Regions from separate parts of the Homo sapiens genome. Here region 2 is linked to region 1. The links are contacts of gene promoters, found by promoter capture Hi-C in blood cells and fetal thymus (Javierre and others, 2016). All regions are on one chromosome and are shown on one strand. The core of a region is centred on a gene start or on the middle of the fragment in contact, and the rest is flanking DNA. Distances in the headings are between cores, read along the strand shown.

Region 1 (7,856 bases), core at 3,367-5,866:
AACTTCCAGAGATCCATGAATACCTGAGCTGTGAGCAAAACATCTGTATATATGTATTTTTAGGAAGAGGGCATATCTTTCTTAGTGAAATTTCAAAATCATTCTTATTCCTCCCCCCGAAACAATGATTAAAACTGTATATGTAGACAAAAAAGACATGGGTAGATAAAAATAACACTCATATACATAGGAGTTCATTTTTTGAAAAAAAAAAAAGGTTGACTTTTGAATATAGCTAATTACCAAACATCATCTAAAGCCAAAAAAGCATTGGATTAATCTTAAAAAATAGTTATACCAAAACTAATTTATGTTTGTCTTTAATACATGTTTTAAAATTTCACATTTGAAAGATATGCTACCCAATGTTTGAATCAATAGCAATATTCAAATTAAAAAGCACAGCTACATTAAAATATTTTAGTTAAGGAATAATAATCAAACCTCAGCCAAACAAGACGTAGATTTTCCTGAAAAATTGAAAGTAACATGTTGGCCTCATAGGTTGAAGAGGTAAAGGTGATCTCACTTTGCAAAAGTTGAGAGCAAGAAGTCAACTAGAGCCAAGATGGCAAGAATTTATGCAAGCTAAATTTTCCTCTGAAAAGAATCCTGAGCTCAGTTGTTAGAGGAAATTCTTGTTTTCAGTTTCTTTGTGACAACCTCATTCTAGAATATATTCATTACAGTTGGGCTATCATGCTTTCTAAATTCCTATAGTTACCATGTCTTCTAACAAGGTGGACAATTAACACTTCCAATCTCTGAGATAACAAAAAGTCTTAGTCATATAAGGGACACTATTTAGAGTATAAAAATAGCAATAGGGTAACAAAGTGGTTTGAAATTAAGCTGATCTATAATTATATAAACTGAAAAATTTCTTCGTCATCTTGACATTTTAATATTTCCTCATTATAGTTTAGATTTTTATCTTCATAGCTAATTAGATGATACATTTTCTGTATTTTAGTATCCTATTTAGAATAAATTTATAAAACAACCATATACACTCACCCAATAATCAAAAAGTAGAGAAATTTACTTTATTTATTTATTTACTCCACTTCTGATTTTATGAGGACATTTACATGAGGTCACACATTAAAACAAATAATTAAAAGAAAATAATATTATCATTACCTAAGAAACCAAAATTGCAGTAGTTAAGGTGATTAAAAAAAAAGAAAAGATATAAAAGGCTTAAGGTCTTATGTAGTTATTCATTTTCAGCTGTTAATTTGACTCTGGCATCCCTAGTAGCTAAAATAAATGCTAACTTTAATTAGTTACATGATTTTCATTGTGTGTAAGAACAGAACATACCACTTTACCCTGGGTTGATTTAAGTGAGGTATGAAAGTTCAATTCATTAAACTGGTATTGAAAGAAATGCTTTTGGGGATATATCTATGAAATCTAAATTTCTTGGGCATCTTTATATAAGAAATAGTAAGTTATATGTTGACCAACACTTTAGTAACAGCTCTGTAGTAGATATAGAGCAGGTTGTGTAAGCTGGCTACTGTTTCACATAGAATTACTGTATATAAGCTGAGAGCATAATGTCAAAGCATAGTAAAGGCAATTCTGCTTGAGGAACTTCTAAACAATGTCACCAACATATTTACCTTTCTAATAACTTGGATTGTTCTGAAAATAAATCATAGATGCTCCAGAAGTATAGATTATCCACATGTGCTTTAGAAAGGCATTCATATATTTCATGCCTTTCAGCAATTTTTTTTGTAAAAGTTGGGCAGTAGATATTGGCAAGGACCTGAAGTACAAGTATTCTGTGTTTTATCTTTTTGCAGTTCTTCATCCCTTCTTTGGCAATGGCTAATAAAACATGAATAGCATATTAATCTGTGTTTGTATAGAACTTTGTAGAACTTACCATATTATTTTGCCACGTATCTCCTCGAGGGCAGAGACCAAATCTCATTTATCTTTGTATCTCAGCATCTAGCAAAGAAAGTGGAACCTAATGGATTTTTAATCCATTATGCTTTCCTGAATAAGCCATTTTGCAGGCTTTTGAGAGCATCATTACCTTTCATATAGCTTGAAAAGGGTCAGGGTCATGCACCAACTAATACCAAGGAACCTAATTTATAATCAATGCTTTCCTTTGGCATCAATTCAGAAGCATTAATGGGAAACGCTAGCAACCTTCAAAATGTAAGCATGTGTGTATGATGTCAATGACATAACAAATCAACATTCACACAAATGATCTATGAAACAAGAAGCCTATTCTACCTTTTAAACTAAGTGAGAATTAGAACTGTAATATCCAGATTTTAAAAATCAGCTTTATGGGCATTTACCATGGAGCCATATTTCAAGTCATAAAGTGACAAGTCAAAGTCTCCAACCGTGATAATAAATTATTGGAGTGGTGCTTATACATCCGCAGCAGAATCATGTAACTTAGTTCTGCTCCCTTGAGCTCGGCCTGCAAAGAGAATGAATGGTTATAGATCATAGTATGGAAATACAGACTCAACTATACCACTGGTCCAGACAATGTCAAAATCAAAATCAAAGGAATCAAATTCATAAAAAATTGTTCATACTGTACAGACAAAATGTTTACATGATTAGTCTCTGAACTAATTTTGAATAAATTATTTTTGTAACAGTTTGGAAACATACATAGAATAATAGATGGAATAAAATGATCTCCTTTCCCACAATCTATGACTGACTGCATTGCCAGAATTCAATATCTCTAGCATCTTGCTACTTTATTTTTATTTATTTATTTATTTTGAGACAATGTCTCGCTCTGTCACCCAGGCTGGAGTGCAGTGGCACAATCTCAGCTCACTGCAATGTCCGCCTCCTGAGTTCAAGTGATTCTCCTGCCTCAGTCTCCTGAGTAGCTGGGATTACAGGCACCCACCACCACACCCAGCTAATTTTTGTATTTTTAGTAGAGACAGGGTTTCGCCATGTTGGTCAGGCTGGTCTCAAACTCCTCACCTCAGGTGATCCTCCTACCTCGGCCTCCCAAAGTGCTGGGATTACAGGCATAAGCCACCACTCCTGGCTGCATCTTGCTACTTTAATTGGTCCCAAAACTAGTAATCTCTGGCATCACCTAGGAAATTGTCAGAAAAGCACAATCTGAGACCCAACCCCACACCTACTGAATCAGAGTCTGCATTTTAGCAAGATCGTTGAAGATTCATATGCATGTTATACTTCAAGAAGCACTGTTCCAGCCCAGAGTGCTAATAAAGAATGTGGCCCTTGGCAAGTTTAAAAAGGGTCAATAAAACCATGGCCATGGAAATGTCCCTAGAATAAGATATGTCTTTCAGTCTTTCATAGAGGGCAGTTAGTTCACCTACATTTTAGGACATCTTAATAGTTTAAAATCAAAAAACAACTTTTAAAAAATGTGGTCTTATATGAACTCTCAGTTATACATTGCCCATTTTTTTGTAAGACCATTACATTTCCTAAATCAGTAAATACTCTAAATAATCATGAAGTTTGTCTTCACTTTGTTATTGAATCTAGTTGCAGTTACATTACGTTTTCAAAGTATTTTCTTTAGATGAGTGTCCCAATTCTGTATCTACATTTCCCCCAACGACTCACAGTCCAGTAGTTATAAGGTGAATAATTAAGATTGTAGGGAATCTAAAAGTGCTTGCAACTTGTAGGTTCTGGATAGAGTCGCAAAACATAAATAGAATTGGGAACCCTGTAACTGAGTTTGTTGAAACGGCCAGACCCCTAAAATAAGGATAAAGAGCAAGGTTTCTGTTGTTGTTTTTTTGTTTTCCTTTGCTTTGCTTTGCTTTACCTTGCTTTCAACGTCGGTTAGGTTTAGAATCTACATATTCAACACTGTTTAGAAAACGTACCTGGCAGCTATCTAGAGCTTTATCAGAGCGTTTCCTGGCTGCTATTTTGTTGTCTTCTAGCTTGTGTTGGGGAGACAGGTCTCACCACGCACCATTTCAGCACTACGGACAGCGCCTAGGCGCCTTCTCCTAGAAACGGAAGGGGATTCAGTTGTGTTTGTGTGGAAGAGAGAAGGGAAAGAGTAGAGGAAAAGAACTCCAAACGACACATTCAGTCTCCAGTTAAATCAATACACCTTTCACTCCTGAATTTTCCTTACCGGATAAGAAGAAACGTGTAAGAATTTAGTGCCTACTGTTCTACTGAAAACGGCTGTCACCAAAGCACAGCAAAATGCCCGCAGCACAGCCAGGAATGCAGCAAAGAGAGCAAAACAAGGATTTCAGCAGTAAATCAATTAAACCCTCACTGCCTTAGTAAACAAAGATAATGATGAAATCTAATTGCTAACCTTCAGGGTGTGTCGTGAGAAAAAAAAGGAGTGTCTATTTTTTTCTTCCTCTCTTCCTCTTTCTTTTAGCAGAACTGAAGAATAGAGCCTGTTGCTGCTGGAGCTGATTCCCTTCCCCTCCTCATCTCCCACCTCCTTTCAGTCTCACATACACACACAGATGCTGCCACAGACACACGCGAGCGCAAATATTTACACACTGCCACACCGAAGAAATCCATGCACGTTTTCCTGCAAACGCGCGCGCGCACACGTACTTCGGCGGGCGCCCACGTCCTCTGTCTCACCAACAGACACAGACATTTACACTTCTAGGCCAGGAAAGCGCTAACCAGGGCCCTGTGACTCTACGCAGGTTCCAGAACACGCCTTCTACATTTGTTACTGAACCGATCAGCGAACACAGACAAACGTGCCAACACTTAAGTCTACTGGCTGGACTTCATCTCCATGGCAACAAGCATGGAAGGTGAGACATCGCTGTCTGCGAAGTAACTTTCTCCCCCTTCCCTCCGCATTAACTGACAGCGTTCCAAATGCAGGTCCAGATGAGAAGCATGTCCTCATTCTCTTGTATTTCTGAAGCAAAAGAGCGGGGGGTGGGGCGGTGGGTGGAGGAGCCAGTAGGTCTGATAAGTTCAAATTCTAAAGGAGAAACAGCACCCCTAATGCTAGCGCCACTGCTGATGCGGCTGCCAGGCGGGGGAAAAGTGTTGTGTACGTGCAGATTGCTGATGCTTCTCCCATAATGTTTTGTAGGAAGTTTCCATGCTTCTTCGGTTTAGTGCGTAGAAAGAGACCTGGAAACAAACAACGCAGAATGATGATGATGGTCTAGGTTTCTTTAATGAGATATCTGGAGAATTTTCAGACCAGGTTTCCCAGTGCGTTGGAAGGATTGAGTGTCAGAGTCCTTGAGCCATCCAAAGATTCTCTTAAGAGAGAAATTCTCTTAAGGTTGAAATCTGAGGGTTTAGGGGTGGATTCTGGCAGATCCTAAGGTCTGGGATCTCTGGAAAGCCCTGAAATTTATGCATTTCACCATGATGAAGACATCTAGGTTTGTAATTTAAGGTTTTCCTTTTATTCCAACACATTCGATTCTTAATGATTAACTACCTCTGTGCAGATGTGGTTTCAATAATGCTTCTTTTCTCTCTTTTACTGGGATATAATCTTTATATTTTGTGTGGAGTGTGTATATGTATGGAATGGTTCATTATTTTTTAAGCTTGGGTTTTCTTATATGTCTTATTTCATGAAATTATGAATGTCATCATTAGCAGTAGAGATTATTATATCTAATGACCAGTGCTAAAATACTTTCTACCTAGAACATCATATTCCACTCTAATAGTTATTATTTCAGGTTTATTGTTTGGAATACCATTACTAGAGAAATAAACAAGAGGAAAAACCTGTTGATTAAAATAAAACACAGGAGGTTCTTTCTTTAATGGGTACACACTTTTTAACATTAGTTTCTGTAATTGTGCATTGTTGCATGATTAAATGATTTTATCTGAAAGGTATATTTTTATATCTCTAGTAAGGTTATTTCACAGAAGACATAAACATCACTAACAATATTCATGAATATGAAAGGCTGCATATCAGGTATAAAAATACTATCATCTTTGCTTAACTGCTTACGGAGATATGATTTGTAAGTACTGATCATAGGAAGACTTTGTTTTTTACTTACTAGTTGCCAATTACAAAGCAACTTCATGAGATTTGGGCTATTTGATATCTACAGGAACACCCCTGGCCCAATCTTATGACTCATCAGTACTTAGAAATCTTGGTGCCTGACAATTGCCATGAAGGAAATGTACTTTCAACCAAGTTACTCATTGCCAAAGTACCTAACCATTTATTCCAGTGAATATGGCTCAAGACAATATTTTATCATTTGCATCAGTAGTATTAAAAGACACTTAAATATTTTAATCATTATATATATTGATCCTGATATTTAAACTGTGCATTGTTTATTTTACCCAATTTTGTGGTATAATATATTTCAAATAACTTTTACCACTACCCAATTTTACATTCTACTTATTTTTGAAAGTTCATTTTTTCTTAACTATTTTTATATGGATTTTTTAATATATGGTTTTGTAACTTAATCTAAATTTTCTCAGATTTCTTTTTTTTTCTATTTCCCAATAAACAGGATATTAAAATGATGCTTCTCTGGAGCTAGGCATTACAGTGTCTGTTGTGAATAGCTCTTCCAGCTTTTAGAGAAAGTGAAAATGCATATTTTATCTATAACTGTTGAGTATTTTGAACACCTTAGTAATTGTGAATGAATCAGTTTTATAACTGGGGACTTTTGTTTTTAATAATATTTTGTTATTAACAATATTTTCATATCATATTATGCTCTATATCAGTAGAAAAGCAGGACTTGGCACACTTAACAGTATATCCTCAAAAACTTTGGATTTGTTGTTGAAATGAGACAAGTTCTTCATTTCACAGAGCAAGTAAAATGGAAAGTTTGGCCAATTGTTTGAAAAATTTAGGCCTGAAATACTGATATTTCAACTGCTATATATATGGTTTAAATTACTAAAACCATCTATTTGCTGAACACATTGTTAGGCAATTGCTTAACTTTTTACTTCTATTTGCTTGTGTAGGCACAGCCTGCAGCAATGGACAAATTTTTAATCAGCCTTTGAATATTACTTTTTCAGTTGCTCTCCTTGACCTGTATTTTGTTTTCATCTTTAGTATAAAGTATATTTTATGATAAATATAAAAGCCTGTTTTCTCTTTTAAGATATTAATAAAACATTTGTTCTTTCTCAACCCATTTTTTTTTTGTTAAAAATGGAAATTTTACAGTTCTTTGAATCCAGGTAAATTTATGGAGCTCTTCCTTTAAAAACTGAATATGCAGTCATGTCTTCATTATTGAAAGTGATTCATCATATGATTTAACCTTCTGTACCGACTAAGTAAAACTTATTTTCTGTCAAGTTTATTTACCACCTGACTCCATTTTCTCATTACCCCTCACTCCTAAATCCAATTCAATTTAGTGTCCCTCCTAGACTCTCAACTAAATTTTTATAATGATGAAATAATTCTGAATGCCAACCATAAGACCCTGTTTTCCAGTGCTTAGTTTCCATCACCGCTGCAGAATTTGACACTGTTTGCTAATGCCTCATTCTAGAAGCCCTAGCCTCCTTTATTATAGGTGAACTTTCTGCTACAGATTTACTCATGATTCATCTTATATAACTCCACTAGGAGATCCTCCTTGTAGGAGAGGCATTCCTTGGAGTTCCTTGCTAGGCTTCTTCCATCTTTAATCTTTTCTGGTAACAGAAAATAGACTTTAATGGAATTACAGTAAAATTGCTCTCTGGATCAATCTAGAACAAGTCCATCTGGCTTCCTACAAGATAATATTTCAAATATTTGAGTCTACCTATTGTCCTTCTTGGTCTTCCCTTTCCTAGGCAAAACTCAACAATTCTTTTCTTCTCTTTAAGTT
Region 2 (7,856 bases), core at 1,501-4,000, 990 kb before region 1:
ACTCAGAACTGTTCTCAAGGCGTTTAGTGCCCTGGGAATGATTAATGGCTCTGCCCGTTCACTGCACCCGGAGGGTAATTGAGCCTGCAGTATTTTGGAGGCTGCAGAGAGGCTTTCTGAGCCACTGTCTGATAGAAGGGGCTGCAACATTTTGGATATTATATCCCTTGGGAGACCTCCTGGAGGACATTTGTGTGCCAAAAGAGATCTTTGGTAGAACTCTTTAAAGAGGAAAAAAGACAGCCCCCCTAAAATATGGGGAAATTGAGCAGTTTTAACGTTTTTTCAGAAATTTGGTTTGCTGTATGTTCCATATTCTTTTTTCCTTCTTTGGTTCTGAAATAATATTCCTTTCCACCTGACTTAAAGCAAATCCTTTGGAAGGTAGCTTATGTTAATTGACTGAGTATTTTGAAAGCATGCAGGCAGAGCTATGTAAAATGTCTTAATTTAAATCAGCGCTAAGCCCTTTCATATTGTAAGCTGAGGTATTTAAAAGTAAGATGATTGGAAATTTCTAAAGTTGCACACGATTCAAGAGAATGCGAAACATGTTAGAAAGAGCTACTGGCACGAGGCTACAGCATCCATTTATTCTCAATATACACATAATATCAATTATAGAAGACAACCAACAAAAGATCTTAAGCTTGTCAGGTTGGGTTTGTGTGGCTGCTTCTGTTCATTAGAATTTTGAGTAACTGGGAAAACTACCAGATTCTTAATGGTTTCTTGAACAGGATATACTAGGAGATCTTAGCACTGTTAAGAAAAAAAATCACATATAAATTCAAAAAACCTTTGCTCATCTATGTGGCCAAATGGGGAATCTAACCCTCCCCCTTTCTGTAGTTTGGATTTAAGTACCTGTGGTGGTGGTTTTTTAGCTTCTTCTGTGGATTCATTAATATCACTTTGGTACTTTCAAGAACAGTTGTTCTTCCCTAACCTGTGAGATTTTACTCTCCATTATAGAAGAGTCTCTCCTCCTAGCCTGTGATGATTTGATGCTGTACCCTGTATACGAGGTTATCTTCCAGATGTTTAGAGAGCCAAACTTAACTGGTTCTCTGTGTGCCAACACTTTTAAGTTTTCACAGGCAGTGAGTTTAAGGTCTTTAAATCATTGGAATAGAGTAGAAAATCAGAAGAACAATTAGGATGGCCCCTCAAATTCTGTTTTTAAATTAGGTTACAGATGTGCATAGACTGCTCTTCTATCTTGCCTTGCTTTGTTAAATTTATCTCAAAGATTGAACTTGCAAGTGTCTTTTTTTTTTTTTGTAATGAAGACCTAAGCTAAAGATTGAAAGAAAGGAGTGGAGAGGGGGAATTAATTGAAATAAATCCACAATAGTTCATTCATAGCCTCTAATTTAACTACCACAACAAAATTAGTGGGAAAAAAAAATCCTAGCATTAAGTCTTGTTTGATGATTCTTGACTCACTGAAGGGCTTTTCTCAGCCTACCAGTTTCTTTGGCTGTTTTGGATAATTTATCAGAAATGTCTTGAAATGACCTCTTGATATGGAGATCTGTATTCCCATGCCGTCATTAATTATTGCACTGTTTAATATATACACACTATGGAGTACTCTAAGTATTATTGTTTATATTTCTTATTTTTTTTACTAATTTTTCAAAATACAAATTTCTTTCTGTGTCATATTTGTAAACTAATAATAATTTTTGGATATATTTAAATCATTTCCTTGGGGAGTCAAAAGGCTTACTGTCCTAGAAAAGGACAGAGTTGGTATTACCTGACACATGTAACATAATGCCCTCCAACTTCATCTGAGTTGTTGCAAATTACAGATTTTCCTTATTTTTTTGTGGCTGAATGGTACTCCATTGTGTATATACCTCATGATCTCACTCACACGTGGAATGTAAAAAATTGATCTCATAGATGTGGAGAGTAGGATGGTGGTTACCAGGGGTTGGTGCAGAGGGTGGGAAGATCTTGGTCAAAGGATATAAAATTTCAGTTAGACAGGAGGAATAGGTTCAAGAAATCCATTGTACAAATGGTGACGATAGTTAATATACTGAATTCTTGAAAATTGCTGTGGGCGGATTTTGTGTTCTCACTACAAAATATGACAACTCTGTGAGGTAATGCATATGTTGATTGGCTTGATTATACCATTCAAAGTATGTATTTTTCAGGATTTGATATTGTGCAATATAAATATATACAATTTTATCTGTCAATTAAAAAAATAAGATATGGATCCCATTGTGTCTAGGATCATGTTGATTCCTAAAGACAGAGCTCTAAGGAAGTGGATTAGGTGAAAACAATAACAGCTTGGCCTCCTCCTCTGCTTAGAAGGGCTCCTGTGTTGTGTAACTCCCAAGTGAATCTTTCACACCAAGGGTGGTCCAAGCAGGGACCTGGATTCACACTTGCAATTGGATGAGATTTTTTTTTCTCTTTTCTTTGGGGAGGATAACGGTTAATTAGTAAGCAAGAGAACCAGGATTCAAATTTAACTTTTTCTAAACCCAAAGCCCAAAATTTTCATTCTGCTTCCTTGACACCAATATTTTTGACAAACTGTTTGTAGCAAAGGATCACAAAATTATACAGTGACAGGAGGGAGGACACGTATACGTCAATATGTTTTTGTGCTTCTCTGAAACACCTAAGGGAAGAGATTTCAATGGGTACAGTTTGGAGTCCTTTCCTGGGAAGGAACTTCCCTTAAAAAGCATCATTCTGAGGACTAAACAGGAAAAAGATGTGGAAGAGAAAAACATTGACAACTACTTTACACTTTTCCCCTATTGGTTTTGCCTTTGTGCCTCAGCATCAGCAGTAAGTAATTGGGCTTTAAGATCATTAAAAGTTTCTGTATGTAAGTCCACTTGTTTGTTTGTTTATCTGTTTTTATCTCATTATTTCTAGTCTTTCCACAAAATATTTCAGGAAGCAAATGTGTTAGGATAGTTAAATAGACCTATTGGCTAATGAAGAGGTTTATATTAAGGTGCAGAAGAAAGTTATGAAAACAGATGGTTTCAGCTGCTCTCATTACCAGCCATGAATTACACCACCTGGAGAACTGCAATTCCTGTGAATTCACAATACATTTCCAGCAAAGTGTTTTGCTGAGTAGTCTTGCTGGGTGGAGTAGGTTTTGTAGTTGAGTAAGGCAAAGGTATAAGCAAGCCACTTAGAGCTCTGTACTCTAGGAAGAGTGTGTGTCTCCCCTACAAAAGCAGAAAATAAAAACATTCCTGTTTTACTTGGAATATGTTTTAGAACAAATATTTAAATATCTAAGTGGATATGTACATGGGTCCTTGTGTATGTGTGTGATATTTCTGCAATTCCTTCCAAAAAAATGATGTAGTCCCATTGTGAAAACCTAACTACAGAAGAGCTAGAAATTTATTTATTCCATCTTGACCTGTGCTCAACTTTTCCATGATAAAACACTCCTCAAACCTTCCTTTGCAAGAAAACTTGCTAAACTAAAATATATCTCTCCTCTCTCCTGCCTTCTCAGTACCAAAGTGTAGGATTTATTCTAGAGTATTTTGTGTATATGTGTGTGTGTGTGAACTGAGATGTCTAATAATACAAATAAATGGCATTTACCAAATTCATACTGTGCATTTTGCAGTGAGCTAGGTTAGCTAGTTACATACGTTATTTCATTTAGTTCTCATTATGAAAGTTACTATTATTAATACTGTTTGACAGATTTAAAAAAACAGAATCTTTGAGAGGCCAAGTAGCATGCCTAGATTTCAGCCAGTTGCGGTAGAACTGAGGTCATCCTCAGAGAACACACTTTTATGATGTATATCTATGTGTCTTTGTCTATATACTCCATATCACTACGTTCTGCTCAAACCAAAAGCAAGATTACTCAACAAAGGAACACTGAAGATTATCTGTGTACTTAAGTTGCCCTGAAATAAGGGAAAGGGCGAAAGGGCTGTGGAAATCACAAGACTCCAGTTTTGATTTAGCTCCCCTTGCTTCCTCAATCTGTGAGTATCTGATGTGCTGATCTTATTAGCTTGTTGGGAAGAAGACCAACTATATTTGTGAAAAGTGTTACAAGACTATAAAGGACTAGGAAACAAGGTACAACTAATCAGATAAACAAATTTAAGTGGTACCTGTTTGAGGGAGAGTTGGCAACCCTTCTCTGGGGTCAGAAAATTATATTTTATAAAATTCACATATCTGTTGGGAACAAAATATGTACTCAAAAGCATAAAATAAGCCTGGAATAAATTCACAGTGCCACTTTTAATTATAATTCTTAGGATTTTAGTCAATGTTAATTATTACTGTTTTATTCTAGTGAATTACTAAAATAAAGAAATATTAATTATGCGCTATTCTAACCAGCTTTAAATTTATGTAGTAAAGTCATTAAAAGTTTCTATCTGGTATTAGCATAAAAGTACACATACAATTCCACTATTTTACTAAGGCTGACATTTTGAGGTTGAGTTACAACTGCAGGGCAGTTTTCAAAAAATTGCCCTACAAACATCATATGAATACATTTTACACATTTATAGGTAGAAAAAGAAAGATATTTCCAAAAGTTAACCTAGAATGCTGCCCCAGCATTTGCTGGTTTCTATGCTTGACAAAATCATTCTTCATTGATTTAGAAAAAGTTACCAAAACAATATGATGACTGAATGATTTCTTGTTTCACCAGAGCTGCGTGGTTTCTTTGAGTGTGCTTTAAGAGAGAGGGAGAAGCCAGGGTGGGCATGAAGAGCCAGTATGTAAGCTGTATTCAAGGTGGTCTCTGTCTTTTTAGAGCTAAGGGAAACTGTCTTTTGCCTTGTCTTATTCATCGATTTAGTAGAAAGCTTGTGTGTGTTTTATATTTTGGAATATTCAGTCTTTTAGATTTACTTCCAAATAATTTATTTCTACATTATGCTTCTTTGTTTGTAGAGAACAATACTTACACAAGTGTTTTATGAAGTAAAATGAACCAACACTACACTCTACAAAGGGAATTTCAAAATAAAAACCATTACGGATGAATGGCATACATTACAGACATCTCTACCATATGTCTTAATGGGTCTGTTGTACTGAGCCCATTTACAAAATTCATAGGCCTAATTTATCTAAGAAATAGAGCGATAATGCTTTCAAGACAAGGAAAGAAATAGAAATGTGGTAAATATAAAAGACACATTAATAATTTTTCCTATGACCCTGATTTCTGTCTTTTCTTTTAAATTATTCAGAGTCATATCAGAAGGATAGTTTTAATAATACAGACATTATTCAATATCAGTAGAAGTTTGGCAACATTACTTCCTAGAGTAGGTGGTTTTGAGACAGAGTAGGGACAGGGCTTGGCTTCACCCCCACTAGAGGATTCTTTTATGCAGTCCCACAGATCACAAAACCTATACCACTACCTCACTGAAGCCGTAATGTTTAACCATACCTTTTACTTAATTCCAGAAACTGGCCTTAAGAGATCCAAATATTAAACCAAGATTGTGGAGTGTCCCACCTCAGGAAGGAATGCTGGACAATTGATTTACAGCCTGTTGCTGTTGGTCAGACCACCAGTTGGTCTCTTATTCAAGATAATTTCTATACCCTACTCCTCACATACTTTGCCCAGCCCAGACGGCATGCCTTATTCCTGATGTCAGTTCCCACACTTTGCCTAATAAAAAACCTCTGCTGGCTTTTTTGGGGGGTCAGCTGGAGGATCCTTGAGCTTATGCTGCCTTCCTTATGCTTGAGCACAAGCCCCAAAATAAAAGCTTTGTTTGGGAAATTGCTTGGCCTCATGTTAATGTTCATTACATGGGGAGCCACAAGCCTGTGGTCTGTAACAGATTCAGAGGATGGGAGAACTTCCGATATCATTATGTTACAGTAGGTAGCTAATCAGGAATGAGCAGGTCAGGAGAGGGCCTCCCTGACCCCATCAGGAATGTTAGGCGACCATCAGGTGATTGTCGGGAAGTTGTTACACTGCGTCTCTAAAATAATAATTGGTCACAGCCAGTCCCTGAGAAAGGCGGTCTCCCAATAAATAGATACAACTGAAACGGGTGATCAACAGCTTCCTGATAAGATCTCAGGAGTTGGGCGGGTGGCCTCAAGCAGACACATTAAGAGGCAAAATGGCAGAGTTTAACTGGTGTATGGCCTTCCAGGGACATTCGATTGGTAAGGGAAGAATGCCTCAAGTGAGCATGTGTACAACTCCAGTAGACACACTGTACATGCTCACCTCCCAAGCACTAGCAGGCCACTGCACATATGGACACCACGCCTCCTCCCAAGGAAAGAATCAGGGGAGAAGAGATGCAAGACCCTGGAAGTATGTCAACATATAAAACCCCAAGTCAAACGGTCAAACCATGCACTTGATCTCTCAAGTCACCTTCGTGGCCCTCTTCCAAGTATACTTTACTTCCTTTCATTCCTGTTCTAAAGCTTTTTAGTAAACTCACTCCTGCTCTAAAACTTGCCGCAGTTTCTCTTTCTGCCTTACGCCCCTCAATTGAATTTGTTTCTTCTGAGAAGGCAAGAATTGAGGTTGCTTCAGACCCTTACAGATTTTTAGCTGGTAACAATTACACTTCTAAGAGCGAAAAAATGTGGACAAAGTGTAGGAAATTCTGTAATGAAGGAATTTCTGGGATGTAGACTCTATCCACCATGGTGTATAAAATATGTCTGAGAGATATCTCTCTCCAACAACATCTCTTTCTTTCCTTTTAGTGAAAACAAAGAAGGCAAAATATTTATATAATTAGATCCTTAATTGTTTTTTAAAAAGTTATTTTCAAAAGGAGTCTGAACTGTTGTTTGTTCAGCTTCCTTTTCTGGACCTGCCTGTTTGAACTGACTCAGTTGATACCACCTTTCACTATTAAAAGTTTTGGGACTCAGAAGGCAATACCCCCAAACTGGCACTTTGACATGTTGAGAGGTCTTAGAAGCTGCCTCAGAATCAAGTTCCCTCTAACCTTGTTCTATTCCCCCACCCCCAATTGCATGGAGGGACTCTTTCTGGAATTTCTTATCTGACTAAGAAAGCTTCTTTCCAAAAGAAAGGCAATTGTCTTAAGATCCTCTCCCTAGGAATCTCATCAAATAGCTAGGAAAGATCAATCACTGGAAAAGAGAAGAGACTGGAAGTCCATCACCACACCCACGCAGATTTTTCATCTGTTCTTCTGAGGGCAGCTCTGAGAGATTGTCTAGGAGACTTTATATGTCTAAGAACAAGACAACCTTTAACCTTTGTTCCTGTGCCTTTCCACCCTTACAGGCCAATCCATTCCCCCATTTTCCTCTTCCCTATGAAGAGGTCATTTAAGCTTCAACCATCTGGCCCATCTTTGAGCTCATACTTTATAGGACTCCCATGCTCATGTGTGTATGTAAAACATTTGTTATGCTTTTCTCTAGGTAACCTGTTTTTGTAATAAGAGTGTCAACCTTGACCCTTTATGATAGGGAGGAAAAGGATCATCACCTTCTTTCTGCCCCTGCAAAAGGAAAATACTTTGGGCATGTTAAGAGTTATTGAATGAATCTAATTGTTTTGTGGACATGAAAATCCACACATTCCTATTTGTTTATTTAATTTAAGAGACTGAAAATATTATAAATCAGTGCTGTGTACCAGTATGTTTACATAGAAGTTAATTATTTTAAACAGAAAATATCCATGGCATAGATAATACAAAATAATTTGACAATAAAATATCTAGCAGTAACCATAAGCTATTAATTACAAACCTCCTTTGACTTGAGAAGAGAGTGGTGGACACTGGACTGCTGGAACTCAGAGCAACTGTAGAGAAGGAAGAGTCGAATTA

Evidence for each region. The method cuts DNA at HindIII sites, captures the fragments that hold promoters and counts their contacts. A CHiCAGO score of 5 or more calls a contact.
Region 2: a fragment that was not itself captured here is called in contact with the fragment with the promoter of CTXN2 in region 1 in 2 of 17 cell types (M2 macrophages and M0 macrophages); the score reaches 6.4 in M2 macrophages.

Annotation. Positions count from the first base shown.
Region 1 is chr15:48,187,049-48,194,904 of GRCh38, forward strand. It overlaps CTXN2 (cortexin 2), which reads left to right and starts at 4,617. Exons shown (of 2, transcript NM_001145668.2): 1 at 4,617-4,805. It overlaps CTXN2-AS1 (CTXN2 antisense RNA 1), which reads right to left and starts at 4,661. Exons shown (of 3, transcript NR_184082.1): 1 at 4,537-4,661; 2 at 3,885-4,013; 3 at 1,032-2,461. RefSeq lists an enhancer at 4,621-5,124. The HindIII fragment of the contact is 9,900 bases long and covers 1-5,565 here.
Region 2 is chr15:47,196,235-47,204,090 of GRCh38, forward strand. It overlaps a transcript of SEMA6D not described here. Among named protein-coding and RNA genes, the nearest start is that of SEMA6D, 520 kb to the right of the region's middle. The HindIII fragment of the contact is 4,207 bases long and covers 648-4,854 here.